5 separate regions of the Homo sapiens genome follow, and regions 2, 3, 4 and 5 are each linked to region 1. The links are contacts of gene promoters, found by promoter capture Hi-C in human tissues and cell types (Jung and others, 2019). All regions are on one chromosome and are shown on one strand. The core of a region is centred on a gene start or on the middle of the fragment in contact, and the rest is flanking DNA. Distances in the headings are between cores, read along the strand shown.

What was found. The method cuts DNA at HindIII sites, captures the fragments that hold promoters and counts their contacts. A contact is called where the count stands out against the background at its distance.
Region 2: a contact is called between a fragment that was not itself captured here and the fragment with the promoter of MYC in region 1, in 1 of the 25 tissues and cell types used here (dorsolateral prefrontal cortex).
Region 3: a fragment that was not itself captured here is called in contact with the fragment with the promoter of MYC in region 1 in 1 of the 25 tissues and cell types used here (dorsolateral prefrontal cortex).
Region 4: a contact is called between a fragment that was not itself captured here and the fragment with the promoter of MYC in region 1, in 1 of the 25 tissues and cell types used here (dorsolateral prefrontal cortex).
Region 5: a contact is called between a fragment that was not itself captured here and the fragment with the promoter of MYC in region 1, in 1 of the 25 tissues and cell types used here (dorsolateral prefrontal cortex).

What each region holds. Positions count from the first base shown.
Region 1 is chr8:127,734,872-127,737,693 of GRCh38, forward strand. MYC (MYC proto-oncogene, bHLH transcription factor) reads left to right here and starts at 1,360. Exons shown (of 3, transcript NM_002467.6): 1 at 1,360-1,752. The coding sequence starts at 1,723. RefSeq lists a cis regulatory region at 1-588 and a silencer at 1,076-1,265. The HindIII fragment of the contact is 14,684 bases long and covers 1-2,822 here.
Region 2 is chr8:129,066,143-129,068,964 of GRCh38, forward strand. No RefSeq gene overlaps it. Among named protein-coding and RNA genes, the nearest start is that of LINC00976, 100 kb to the left of the region's middle. The HindIII fragment of the contact is 3,749 bases long and covers 1-2,822 here.
Region 3 is chr8:128,795,860-128,798,681 of GRCh38, forward strand. No RefSeq gene overlaps it. Among named protein-coding and RNA genes, the nearest start is that of LINC00976, 170 kb to the right of the region's middle. The HindIII fragment of the contact is 3,980 bases long and covers 1-2,822 here.
Region 4 is chr8:128,778,672-128,781,493 of GRCh38, forward strand. No RefSeq gene overlaps it. Among named protein-coding and RNA genes, the nearest start is that of LINC00976, 190 kb to the right of the region's middle. The HindIII fragment of the contact is 7,206 bases long and covers 1-2,822 here.
Region 5 is chr8:128,738,314-128,741,135 of GRCh38, forward strand. No RefSeq gene overlaps it. Among named protein-coding and RNA genes, the nearest start is that of LINC00824, 180 kb to the left of the region's middle. The HindIII fragment of the contact is 3,830 bases long and covers 1-2,822 here.

The DNA.
Region 1 (2,822 bases), core at 110-2,609:
GAAAGGAATTAAACGTCCGGTTTGTCCGGGGAGGAAAGAGTTAACGGTTTTTTTCACAAGGGTCTCTGCTGACTCCCCCGGCTCGGTCCACAAGCTCTCCACTTGCCCCTTTTAGGAAGTCCGGTCCCGCGGTTCGGGTACCCCCTGCCCCTCCCATATTCTCCCGTCTAGCACCTTTGATTTCTCCCAAACCCGGCAGCCCGAGACTGTTGCAAACCGGCGCCACAGGGCGCAAAGGGGATTTGTCTCTTCTGAAACCTGGCTGAGAAATTGGGAACTCCGTGTGGGAGGCGTGGGGGTGGGACGGTGGGGTACAGACTGGCAGAGAGCAGGCAACCTCCCTCTCGCCCTAGCCCAGCTCTGGAACAGGCAGACACATCTCAGGGCTAAACAGACGCCTCCCGCACGGGGCCCCACGGAAGCCTGAGCAGGCGGGGCAGGAGGGGCGGTATCTGCTGCTTTGGCAGCAAATTGGGGGACTCAGTCTGGGTGGAAGGTATCCAATCCAGATAGCTGTGCATACATAATGCATAATACATGACTCCCCCCAACAAATGCAATGGGAGTTTATTCATAACGCGCTCTCCAAGTATACGTGGCAATGCGTTGCTGGGTTATTTTAATCATTCTAGGCATCGTTTTCCTCCTTATGCCTCTATCATTCCTCCCTATCTACACTAACATCCCACGCTCTGAACGCGCGCCCATTAATACCCTTCTTTCCTCCACTCTCCCTGGGACTCTTGATCAAAGCGCGGCCCTTTCCCCAGCCTTAGCGAGGCGCCCTGCAGCCTGGTACGCGCGTGGCGTGGCGGTGGGCGCGCAGTGCGTTCTCGGTGTGGAGGGCAGCTGTTCCGCCTGCGATGATTTATACTCACAGGACAAGGATGCGGTTTGTCAAACAGTACTGCTACGGAGGAGCAGCAGAGAAAGGGAGAGGGTTTGAGAGGGAGCAAAAGAAAATGGTAGGCGCGCGTAGTTAATTCATGCGGCTCTCTTACTCTGTTTACATCCTAGAGCTAGAGTGCTCGGCTGCCCGGCTGAGTCTCCTCCCCACCTTCCCCACCCTCCCCACCCTCCCCATAAGCGCCCCTCCCGGGTTCCCAAAGCAGAGGGCGTGGGGGAAAAGAAAAAAGATCCTCTCTCGCTAATCTCCGCCCACCGGCCCTTTATAATGCGAGGGTCTGGACGGCTGAGGACCCCCGAGCTGTGCTGCTCGCGGCCGCCACCGCCGGGCCCCGGCCGTCCCTGGCTCCCCTCCTGCCTCGAGAAGGGCAGGGCTTCTCAGAGGCTTGGCGGGAAAAAGAACGGAGGGAGGGATCGCGCTGAGTATAAAAGCCGGTTTTCGGGGCTTTATCTAACTCGCTGTAGTAATTCCAGCGAGAGGCAGAGGGAGCGAGCGGGCGGCCGGCTAGGGTGGAAGAGCCGGGCGAGCAGAGCTGCGCTGCGGGCGTCCTGGGAAGGGAGATCCGGAGCGAATAGGGGGCTTCGCCTCTGGCCCAGCCCTCCCGCTGATCCCCCAGCCAGCGGTCCGCAACCCTTGCCGCATCCACGAAACTTTGCCCATAGCAGCGGGCGGGCACTTTGCACTGGAACTTACAACACCCGAGCAAGGACGCGACTCTCCCGACGCGGGGAGGCTATTCTGCCCATTTGGGGACACTTCCCCGCCGCTGCCAGGACCCGCTTCTCTGAAAGGCTCTCCTTGCAGCTGCTTAGACGCTGGATTTTTTTCGGGTAGTGGAAAACCAGGTAAGCACCGAAGTCCACTTGCCTTTTAATTTATTTTTTTATCACTTTAATGCTGAGATGAGTCGAATGCCTAAATAGGGTGTCTTTTCTCCCATTCCTGCGCTATTGACACTTTTCTCAGAGTAGTTATGGTAACTGGGGCTGGGGTGGGGGGTAATCCAGAACTGGATCGGGGTAAAGTGACTTGTCAAGATGGGAGAGGAGAAGGCAGAGGGAAAACGGGAATGGTTTTTAAGACTACCCTTTCGAGATTTCTGCCTTATGAATATATTCACGCTGACTCCCGGCCGGTCGGACATTCCTGCTTTATTGTGTTAATTGCTCTCTGGGTTTTGGGGGGCTGGGGGTTGCTTTGCGGTGGGCAGAAAGCCCCTTGCATCCTGAGCTCCTTGGAGTAGGGACCGCATATCGCCTGTGTGAGCCAGATCGCTCCGCAGCCGCTGACTTGTCCCCGTCTCCGGGAGGGCATTTAAATTTCGGCTCACCGCATTTCTGACAGCCGGAGACGGACACTGCGGCGCGTCCCGCCCGCCTGTCCCCGCGGCGATTCCAACCCGCCCTGATCCTTTTAAGAAGTTGGCATTTGGCTTTTTAAAAAGCAATAATACAATTTAAAACCTGGGTCTCTAGAGGTGTTAGGACGTGGTGTTGGGTAGGCGCAGGCAGGGGAAAAGGGAGGCGAGGATGTGTCCGATTCTCCTGGAATCGTTGACTTGGAAAAACCAGGGCGAATCTCCGCACCCAGCCCTGACTCCCCTGCCGCGGCCGCCCTCGGGTGTCCTCGCGCCCGAGATGCGGAGGAACTGCGAGGAGCGGGGCTCTGGGCGGTTCCAGAACAGCTGCTACCCTTGGTGGGGTGGCTCCGGGGGAGGTATCGCAGCGGGGTCTCTGGCGCAGTTGCATCTCCGTATTGAGTGCGAAGGGAGGTGCCCCTATTATTATTTGACACCCCCCTTGTATTTATGGAGGGGTGTTAAAGCCCGCGGCTGAGCTCGCCACTCCAGCCGGCGAGAGAAAGAAGAAAAGCTGGCAAAAGGAGTGTTGGACGGGGGCGGTACTGGGGGTGGGGA
Region 2 (2,822 bases), core at 124-2,623, 1.3 Mb after region 1:
CAATACCAACCTACTCTGAAAAATAAAGGAGGAAAGAAGCCTAGGTAATGCATACTCAATACCTTACCAATTTCAGGGACGCTCTAAATAGTTACTCCTCCCTTGGGAAGAAATGAGAGCAGGAGTGGAAAGAAGGGCCACTTCCAAAAAAACAAATCAAAGAATCTGTTTTATAGAGGACCCAGACACAAACTCAAGAAGGAGAAGAAAATATTTCCTCCTATATAAAACGGCAATAAAAGGAAAGCCCGATATAGGATGCAATGGTATTCCAAGAGGGACACAAAAGGAGCTTAGCTGGTGGATGTAATGTACAGGAAAAAGAGGAATATTTTCTACAGGTAAATACCTCAGTAGAATAAGCAATGTCATAAAATCTAGCTAGTCCCTGGTATTGTACAGGCAGACAGCAGCAAAGATTTAAGAAAAGTCACTTCGATTATGGATGATGATGTTATGGGGAGAGATAAGAAGTCTGGATAGTGAGAAATTTTGTAATGAAGATACCCATGTCCAGTTTTTTCTGATTGTTTGTTTTTTTCAGGGACAGTTATCGATATTGACTATCCCTGTTTTGTACAGTTTGATGTTTGCCAGCAAGCGTACCACATCTTAAAATTTTTATTCACCTAATAGTTTTGCTGCAGAACAGTCAGTCGAAAGGCATTATTCAGAGGGCAAAGCATTTAAGAGAGGCCCTTTATGCCAAAATATCCAAGTATTGCAACTTTAGATACTTCCAAACATATTATTTTAATATCATTATTATTATGCTTCTGCTTTAAATGAGATTTTGCCACAGCTGGCTTTTTTCACTTGTTGTTTTTGGGTTATAATAGAATATAGTAGCTTCCAAGGACAAAAAAAATCAATACACACAGCTAAAAATACCTTGCTGTTATCTCAGCTTGCAGTTCTGCCAGCTTTAAAAAGAAAGAAAAGAACACTGGAGATAGGTTTTCAGGCCTTGGCATTTAGGATTCTATTTGATGATTTCCAAATCAATACACCAGAAATATCCCCAACATCTCTCTGTAGGGATGGCTCTCCTGCCTTGTTTTTCAGTATTACAAAACCTCTACTACTATGAGGTAGCTCTACTTTTCATTTCTCCCCATTACCTCCAACTTTCGGATATTTGCTCGTAAGTCTGGATGTGGTAAAGTTCTATGGAATGGGTGTATGCCTCTGTGTGTCAGGGACTGAAGAGGCACGTGTGTACTCAGTGTTCCCAGAAGCTTGGTTTCAAAAGTTAGGGGAGGCTGGGAGTCATGCCCAGAGCACAAGAAAAAAAAAGAAGTACTCTTTTTCTCAGTCCCTATCCAGGCGATGAGAAAATTTGCTTTTGGGGATTGGTCCAAACTCTTTTCTGGCTTGCAACATTTTCTCAAACTGGGGAACTTATTTTCTAGTAAATATCCCCTTCTTTACTGCTGACAGAAGAAACTGGAAGTCAATGCGGTTAATTTCAAATTTAACATGATTTAGTTTAAAAAAGCATTTACTAACACCCTTCCTGGTGTCCAGTGCTTTTTCAAATCCTTTGGGGAACATAAAAATTCAGCAAGACTCTTACTCCTTTACAAACAATTTAACATGCAAATTGTTTGCATCAAAGTATGAGTGTGAGTGAGTTTGTGGCAGGAATTCAAAGGAGAATCTATGGTAGAGACCATCTGGATTGGCTTTTCGGAGATGGTGAGTGTGATGGGACTTAAAGGACATTATCTTTTTCTTTTTCTTTTTCTTTTTTCAAGACAGAGTTTCTCTCTGTCACCCAGACTGGAGTGCAGTGGTGCGATCTCAGCTTCCAGGGTTCAAATGATTCTCCTGCCTCAGTCTCCTAAGTAGCTGGGACTGCAGGCGCACGCCACTGCACCTGGCTAATTTTTCTATTTTTAGTAAAGAAGGGTTTTCACTATGTTGTCCAGGCAGTCTCGAACTCCTGACTTCAGGTGATCCTCCCACCTCAGCCTCCCAAATTGCTGGAATTACAGGCGTGACCCACTGCGCCCGGCCAGCATTTGAACAAAGTGGAGACCATGATGTGAGACTTGTTGAAAATAGCAGGTTGTTGGTCCTTCTGGAGGACTTGAGGAGAGTAGGGGCTGGACTTACTGTTTCAGGTTCTTTAGGGCAGTTGCTTAAATGCCATTTGGAGCCAGAATTGAATATTAGTTTAACAAATGACCTCTGAAATCACACAGGCCTGAAATTTAAACCTGGGTTCTCTCCTACATTTTTGAATAATTTAATTAACCATCATCAACCTGAGGTTACCAAAATAGGTAAATAATATGACATAAGGCAATATTTAAGATAAAATGATATAATATCTTCATTTAACCAATAACCTTGAGGCAGACATGTAGAATTTTAAAAATTCTCGGCACTGAGGTATGTGTTTACACAAAACAGACAAAAATCATGATAAAAATTGTCTGGTACATGGTCACCAATCAATAAATGATAGCTCTTAGCTTGATGCATTAAGCTTTATGAGAGAGAGGCTGAGGTTTCCAGAATTGAAATTAAGAAACATACATCTGTCCTGAGGGAATAGGATGGAGTAGGGACAGGCAGAAAGCTGGAAGGCAGAGAGACTAGCTGAGAAGCTATCATCACAGTCTTCCTAATGAGTGTCACGACTGTGCAGGCAGTGGATAAAAAGTGCTGAGAAGCAGGGTCCAATATGGCACATTTGCCCCTAGAATTTTATGCCAATAGATCCAGGAATAGTTCAGAGTTTGCAGACCTGCCCATCATGAAAGAAACATCACTAGACTTATCATTGAGTATGCATTAAGGCATCTTGACCTTTA
Region 3 (2,822 bases), core at 180-2,679, 1.1 Mb after region 1:
AGGGAGGAAGTATAGGGTATAAAACAGGCTGACTTTTTGCCCCAGAAGTCCAACGCACATTCAGAAAACTTGAAGGACTTATCTCTGAAGCTGCCTAACATTTTCCCAAATAGAAATATTAATTCCATTGAGAAAGAGGTCACGGAAGAATGGAGAAGGGGTCATAACAGAGAGAGAGATGTTCTAGTACTTTCCATGGCCTCTACTTGAAGCACTTACAGCTAGAACCATGGAGTGCTATAGCTAAGGAATGCAAGAGCAGGATTAGTATTTATCGGGGCACCTAATTAATGTCAACTGTTCTATCTTCCACGTCGTAGTTAATGCATATGGTGTCTCCATAAGATAGAAATTATAATACCCATGTCACATGTGATGAATTGAGATGCAGAAAATGATAAAGTGAGTTACTTTAAGGAGGAATTGGAGAAAGAAGACAAATCTTCTTGCCCTTAGTCATTGTTCTTTCTGGCTTTCCAGAATACCACATACAGATCCTGATACACAGGCACGTGTCACTTAACCATGGGCACAGGCATGTACCATTTAACCATGGGGATACATTCTGAGAAATGCATCATTAGGCCATTTTGCCATTGTGTGAACATCATGGAGTGTACTTACATAAACCTAGAAGGTATGGCCTACCACACACCTAGGCTATATGGTATAGTCTATTGCTCCCAGGCTACAAACCTCTACAGCATGTTATTATGCTGAATACTGTAGCCAATTATAACACAATGGTAAGTATTTGCATATCTAAACACAGAAAAGGTACAGTATTATAATCTTATGAGATCACCAGGACATATATATGTCCTATTATTGACCAAAATGCCATTATGTAGCATGTAACTTTAGTTCCAAGCTCAGAAATGAGGCACAGTGATACTAGGCATGAGTTAAACTGGGCACAGGACACGGGAAGCCTAGAATGAATAGGAGTCCAGGAAAACATGCTAAGCAGTCAAGTGGAAAAGTCAATTCCCTCTTTGGTTCAAAGGTCAAGAATGAGTTTAGGAATTGAAGCCATCACTGAGTCAGGGATAAAATAAATTTAGGGATGCAGCAAGAAACAAGAAACAAAATCATAACTGAGGTGTAAAGTAGATTTTAAAGACAATATTCGTATGGACTGGCATGGTGCATGAGAGCCTGCTGCCAGGGCAAAGGGCTTGGGCAGCAGACAGACTCAGGTTTGAATATCAGCTTTGCTATTTTCAAACTTAGGCAGCATTTGCCCAATGTCAGGCTATATATATATATATTTGTATATATATTCACACAGAATCCTCTAAGTAACCCTATGAAATAATCACGATGATCTACTTCTACAGTAGGAGTAAAAAAACTGAGGCAGGCAGAAATTAAAGAAATTGCTCACATTCCCTATATTGGTTACCTGATGTTGCATAAAGAATCATCCCAAAATTTAGAAGTTTAAAACAATAAATATTTATTATCTCACATTTTCTGTGAGGTAGGAATCAAAACATGGCTTACCTGGATCTTCTGCTTCAACGTTTCTCATAAGGTTGCGTCTTTGTCTATTTTGTGTTGCTGTAACAGAATATCTGAGGCTTGGTCATTAATAAAGAAAAGAGGTTTATTTAGCTTATGTTTCTATAGGCAGAAAGTTCAAGGACATAGCCCTGGCTTCTGGTGAGGGCTTTCATGCTGTCTCATAACATGGCAAAGAAGGTCAGTGAGGAAGCAGATATGTGCAAAGAGACAAAACCCAAAGAGTGTCTTGACTTTATAACAACTAACTCTCAAGAGAGTGTGAACTTGCTATCGTGAGAAGGGCAGCAAGCTATTCATGAAGCATCTGTCCCCATGACCCAAATACCTCCCCGCTAGACCACCTCCCAACACTGCCACATATGGGAACAAATTTCAACATGAGTTTTCATGAGCGCAAATTCAAACCTTAGAAAGGTGTAATTAAGGCGTCCTCTGAAACAGGTTACATTTGAAGGCTTTACTGGGAAAGAATCTGTTTTCAGGTTAACTCACATAGCTGCTGGAAGAATTCAATTCCTCATGGGCATTGGACTGAAGGCCCTCATTCTTCACTGGCTGTTGGTGTGAGGTACCCTCAGTTTTTTGCCACAAAGACTTCTCTCACATGACAACTTGTTTAATCAAAGCCAGCAGCAGAGAGAGTCCACTAGTAAGAAACCACAATCTTTTGTAACTTACTCAACAAAATGACAGCCCCACTATGTTGCCATATTCTGTTGGTTACAGGTAGGTTATTCAAGAGGAAAAGATTAGAAGAAGTCCATGAATAACAGGAAATGGGGATCAACTGGGGCCATCTTAGATGCTGTCTATTTTCCCCCACTAGCAAGCAGCAAAGCTATGACTTGAACACAGGTATTCTGTTTCCAGAGTCCATGCTCTTAACCATTAAACTCTACAGCTACTGTGCCATGGGACCATGTGACCTGGGACTAAATAATTTACTTTGAGTCTCTGTTGTGTTTTTCTGTAGAAGATTCATTGATAATATCTGCATTTCAAGATTGTTGCTGGGATCAAATATAATGCATTCAAAATACCTAATACATTCACAGCTCCTAATGTATTGAAATGCACTCAAATGAACTGAAGTGTTGGTTAATATGGATATTGCTGTTTAATCAGAGTATCCCAGCATACCTGGGAGGATGAAGAGGGACTAGAAAACTCCTATTTTACAACATAGGAGCTATACTGACCTGTGCTGAGTCATCTCTGGCACTTTGGATTTTCCTTTTGCTTAGAAACTCCACTTAATTCCCAGTGTTTTCACTCTTCCCAGAAAGTGGGGCTGA
Region 4 (2,822 bases), core at 190-2,689, 1.0 Mb after region 1:
GCTATTATGTGTTGGAGCCAGAATTTTAACTGAGTTTGCCTTACAAGAAGAGTTTCTCAGCTTCAACACTATTAAAGTTTCGGTTCAGATAACTCTCTATTGTGGCGACTGTCTAGTGTATTGTTGGATATTTAGCAGTATCCCTGACTTTTACTCACTAGATGCCAGTAGTGCCCCTTCCCCAGCTTGTGACAACCAAAAATACTCTAGACATTGCCCAATGTCCCTTAGGGGTAAAATGGTCCCAGTTCAGAACCACTGCCTTACCAGAAAGTATCCTACTCTGCCTGAGTCCAATGGTGTCATTTCTGCTCTTTGCACCCAACATTAAACACTTGTAAAGTCTATACTCATCATGAAGAATTTCCTTCTTTTCACTAAACATTTCCTTCAGCAATATAAAAAGCCTGCACTAGTTCTATAATTTTTTATTATTTTAACTAATTCTTCAAGAAAGTTTAGGAAGCCCTTCACATTATGGAAAAGTGAGTTCAAAAAGGATGATGTTCCATAGTTTACTGCTGTTATTATTGTTGTTCAGATCATTATTGATCATCTCTCCTATTGTCATTTTTGTTTTAATGTAAAAATAACCAGACATGACTTAATTTTACAGTAACAACATCACTTCCCATCTGATTTGAGTTCAATAGGGATCACCGTAGATCTGCACTTGGCTGTGCATTTGTCATACTGTGCCAGGAATAAGCTTCTTTCCTTGTCTGTCCACATTTGGCTGCAGAATCTTTGCTCCATTATCAGTCTGTGTCTACCTTTGTCTGGATAGCTATCTATAATAATATACGAACTGTTTTAACCTCATAAGTTAGTAAAGAGAGACAGAATATTAGCTGAGAATGATAGGGTCACACTATGAAATAAAAAATATAATTTGTTAAACAGTCAATGAAGACAACCTTACTTATGCAACTATCTAAAATATAAAATAATGGACACTTGGTGTTAATTTTTGCTTTTCCTGACCAAGCAACTTGAAAAATATTTGATCGAGAAAGGTGTCTTAGTCCATTTTCCATTGCTATAACAGAATACCACAGACTGGGTAATTTATAAATAATAGAGGTTTATTTAGCTCATGGTTCTAGAGTCTGGGAAGCCTGAAAACATGGCAGTGGCATCTGGTGAGGACCTTGTGCTATGTCAAGATATTGTGGAAGGCATTCCCTGATGAGACAGGACAAGCATGCTAGCTCAGGTCTCTCTTTTACTCTTTATACAGCCACGAATACCATCATGGGGGCCACACCCTGATGACCTCATTTTATCTTAATTACCTCCCAAAAGCCCCGTCTCCAGATTCCATCATCATATTAATCTGGGGATTAAGTTTTCAATACAAAATTTGGGAGACACATTCAAACCGTAGCAGAAGTCTCAGAAGAATGCCTCTGGTCTTTTCTTAAATGTGCTTTAAAAAACAAACAAATAATAATAAAAAAAAAACCTGAATTCCAAGACAACCACTGATGGTCTTTTGGGACACAATTTATATACATCTTTTTCATGATGAAGATCTTAAGTATAGTAAGATCTAGGAAAAATTAAATTGGGGAAATCAGACCACATAACATCAAACATACATTTCTGACAATTTTATACACTGGACTGTCTCCTTCTCAATAGAAAGTCTCATATATTTTTTTTGCTCAGAGTGGTAACCATCATGTCCTGAGAGGTGAGTCCCAACATTCATGCACTGGTGATCACAAGTTACTCTCCGCTGGCTATGACAAGTCCTACTAAACTCTGTCTCAAAGCTGTGGCAGTGCCAGTCAGTTCTTACCTCAAATAGCCTCATGATTTCAGTTTACTAGTCCAACATTCACTGAGCATTTTTGTAGAAGCTGAGAAGACATAGACTGATATAATATGGTCTCTGACCTCAAAGAGCATTCAGTCTGATCAAAACTGAAATAAAAACAGATAATTAAAAGTGTTTAGCCAATGTGATGGTGGAAGAAAGGATGGAATGCTGAGGGGTCCAGAGGAAGACATTCTCTTACAAGCCCTGAGAAGAAATTTGAGGAAGTTTTGAGGATTCTGAGGAGAGTCTAGAAGGACAAATGAGAGTTGGAAAAGGAAGGGGAGACAGAGATCCCAAAGGCAGTAACAAGTAAAGGTCAAGAGTATAATGAAAGCATAGTGCTGTGAGAGCCACAAGTAAGATAGAGAAAAGAATGGTGGTAGTGGGAGAGTGACTGCCTCAGAGGAAGCTAGGTTTTAACTGTGCTGTTTATGACTTCATCCCTGGTTCTTAGCATTTAGAAAAATGGTTTTCAACCTTGGCTGAATATTGAAATCATCTGTGAAACTTTAAAATATAACTGATGCCTATACCTCTACCCACAATTTTTTTAGTTGATCTGGAGCAAAGCATGAATATTCCAGAAAATAAATTCACATGACATGTTCCAAAATGGCGGAGTACTTAGAGTACTAGTTGTCTGAGATGTAAGAAGTAAAAAGTTTCTCTTTCTCTCTCTTCCTTTCTCTTTCCCTCTCCCTCTCACTTTCCATCTCCCTCTTCCTCCACCCTCTTTTTCTTATTCTCTTTCTCACTATCAGAAAGCACTTTAGCTCTAAGAACTCTATTGCTGAAAATCACTATAGGTTTCAGAACATTATTTAAATTTGTAAAAGGACAGAAGTGAAGAGCTATACTATGTATAGATTTAAAAGTTCAACAAAATATATTTATTTAGTCAATTCAATCAATAACTAAAGAGAACTTTCTGTGGTTCTAGTTACTCCTCTAGGCTCTCAGAATACAGGGATAAACCAAAAAGCCAAAAGTTTTCCTC
Region 5 (2,822 bases), core at 211-2,710, 1.0 Mb after region 1:
GAGCATTCAATCCAGTCTAACAAATATTTATTAATGCTGAGGTGGAACTTGAGAAAGTGGGTGGGAGAGGAAGGTGGAATTGGGAGTGGATTTTGACTGTGGGAATGGGAGGTTGGGGAAAGAAACATTATTTACATTGTGCCAATTTTTCTATATATTTAATGCTAGTGAGGACTTACAGCAAAACTTTGAGACAGGCAATGTTATCCTTCATTTAGTAGGTAAGAAAGCCAAGACTTGGGGGTCAAGTAACTTCTCCAATCACATCTACACCGTTAATAAATGCCAGAACCTATTTCCAAATTTATGTGCATCTGATTCCAAAAATCTATATCCTACCCCCTACATTATTTTATCCCTATGCCTCATTCAGAGCAGTGTGATGGAGTCTGAGGATGGGAATATAACAAAGGAAGCAATGTAGGCCTTACATTTTAAAGTGTTCTGAACTAATAAGGGAAGAAAGGCATGTAGACAATGAGCCATATCACGTGACAGAATAAAATATGGGCTTGGCTAGATATAAACGACGTACTGAGGATGACAGATAAAAGAGCATTTCATTGATATTTCTGTAAGGGATAGTATGTACTCTCTAGTACTTACTAGATATGATGTTATTGGACCTGAATGCAAAGAAAGATATTGAATCAAGCTTAATAGGTTAAGAATTAAGGGACAACCATCATGCACAAAGAAGGGGAAGGGATTATAATGCATGGACAGAAATAAAGTTGAAAAAAATGCTTGCAGTTAGATCATGGAAATTCTTGAATACAGCCATAGGCAGTTTGGACTCAGTACTTTGCACGATGGAGGTCAACAGGAGATATTAATATTTGGAGAAGGAAGATAAGTGATCTGTTGTATTGATATCTAGGGAAAATCATTATTTAAAAAATAACCATAGCTTACTTTGAATAGGTGCTATAGAGTTTGGGGAATTATACAAGTATCTTTTCCTTCAAATTCCCATATTGTCTCTTAGCTAGATGGCCTGGAATTTTCTTCCTTTGTATTTAAAATTTGTAATAAGTAATCTAAGAATACAAACTAGAAGTTTTATTAATGTGTCTTCTCATGCATCACAAACCCAGAAGAAATGTCATAAACCTCCACATCTTCTCTACCTACCTGGGAAGAGCAATATTTTAATAATGAGGAGTATGGAAAAAGGTGGAGAAGAGGGCCTAGCTACAATGGCGTAGGTTCAGAATCATGACTGTGGTCTTTAGAAACCCTAAAAGGAATAAAGGTAGGCATCCCAGTCCTAGAGAAACTGGAATATCAGGCAGGTAGATAGGTATCAGACATTTACAAAATTCATACCTTGGATCCACAGTCTAGAACTTAGGGCAAAATTTGGAATAGAATCCAGAGCTTGACTTCCCTGGTAATAGATGACCAGGCCATGAGATTATTTTTCTTCTCACAGGGAAAAACTGGTTACAAAGAATGAGATGAGGTTAAGTCTGCTAGCAAAGCAGAATAGTTCCAGTTTTATAGTCAGATAGCCAAGGGATCAGAAAATGTGGCTAATTTATGCAATACAAAGAGACATCACAGGTTGTGTTTGGGGAAGTCAAAGGTCTATTGGAGTACTTAAATTTGAGAGAAGGCAATGAGTATCAGTTTTTCTAATAGGAATTTCTAGTGAAACAACAACAACAACAACAACAACAAATCGATATTAGGTTGTAAAGTAGGAGGTCAAGCAAAGCTCTCAGTAGCAAATAGATGTAGCCTTGATTACTGTCTTTCCCTTTGACTTGATGTGTTATGTTGATCTAGACAGAAAAGCTGTCTGAACCTTTATTCATTAATATGTGAAATGGTAATAAAGATGACTACTTCATAAACAGACTATGAGGATTTCAATAAAATAGTTTACCTGAAATGAAGATAAGCTGTCTGTGACAAGCAGGCTCTAATATGATACCCACCTGCTAGTGTTTATGCCTGTATGTGATCCTCTTCCCTTGGTTGCTGGCTGGCTTGACGATTTGCTTTTAATTAATTGAATGTGGTGAAGTGGCAGGATATCACTTCCCTGATTAGGTTACATATGACTGTGGCTTCTCTCTTGCTAGGGAATTCTTCCTCAATTGTTTGTTGAAGTTAACTATTGCATGAAGAGGCCCATGTAGCAAAGAACCAAGAACAACCTCCTGTCGGCAGCCAATGAGGAACTTAGACCCCCGATGTAACAGCACGCAAGGAATGGAATTCTGCCAATAACTAGATAAGTTTAGAAAGCAAATCCTTCCCTGGTTGAGCCTTCTGATGAGACACCAGTCCTAGCTGACACGTTGATTACATCCTGTGGTGGTTAATGTTGTGTCAACCTGGCTAGACTGTGGTTCTCAGTGGATTGGCTAAATATCAGTCCAGATGTTGCTGTGAAGGGTTTTTTTTTTAAATGTGATTAAGATTTAAGTCAGTAGACTGAATAATTATCAACATTCATATAAGTAGACTTTGAGTAAAGCAGATTCTACCCATAATGTGGGTGGGCTTCATGCAATCAGTTAAAGGCCTTAAGAGCAAAGAAAGACTGAGGTTGACCCCAAAAGAAAGAGTTTTCCTTCAAGATAGCCACATAAAATCCCAGCTTGAGTTTCTAGCCTGTTCATCTTTGGTATGTGGACTAAGATTGCCACATCAACCCCTGCCAGAACTCCAGACTGTGAGCCTGCCCTACAGAGTTCAGATTTGCCAGTCCCCAAAAATCACATGAGAAAATTTCTTAAAATAAATTTATCTCTTTTTCTCTTTAAATATAAAAGAACTTAAAGCAGAAGATCTCACTAAGTTATGCCTGT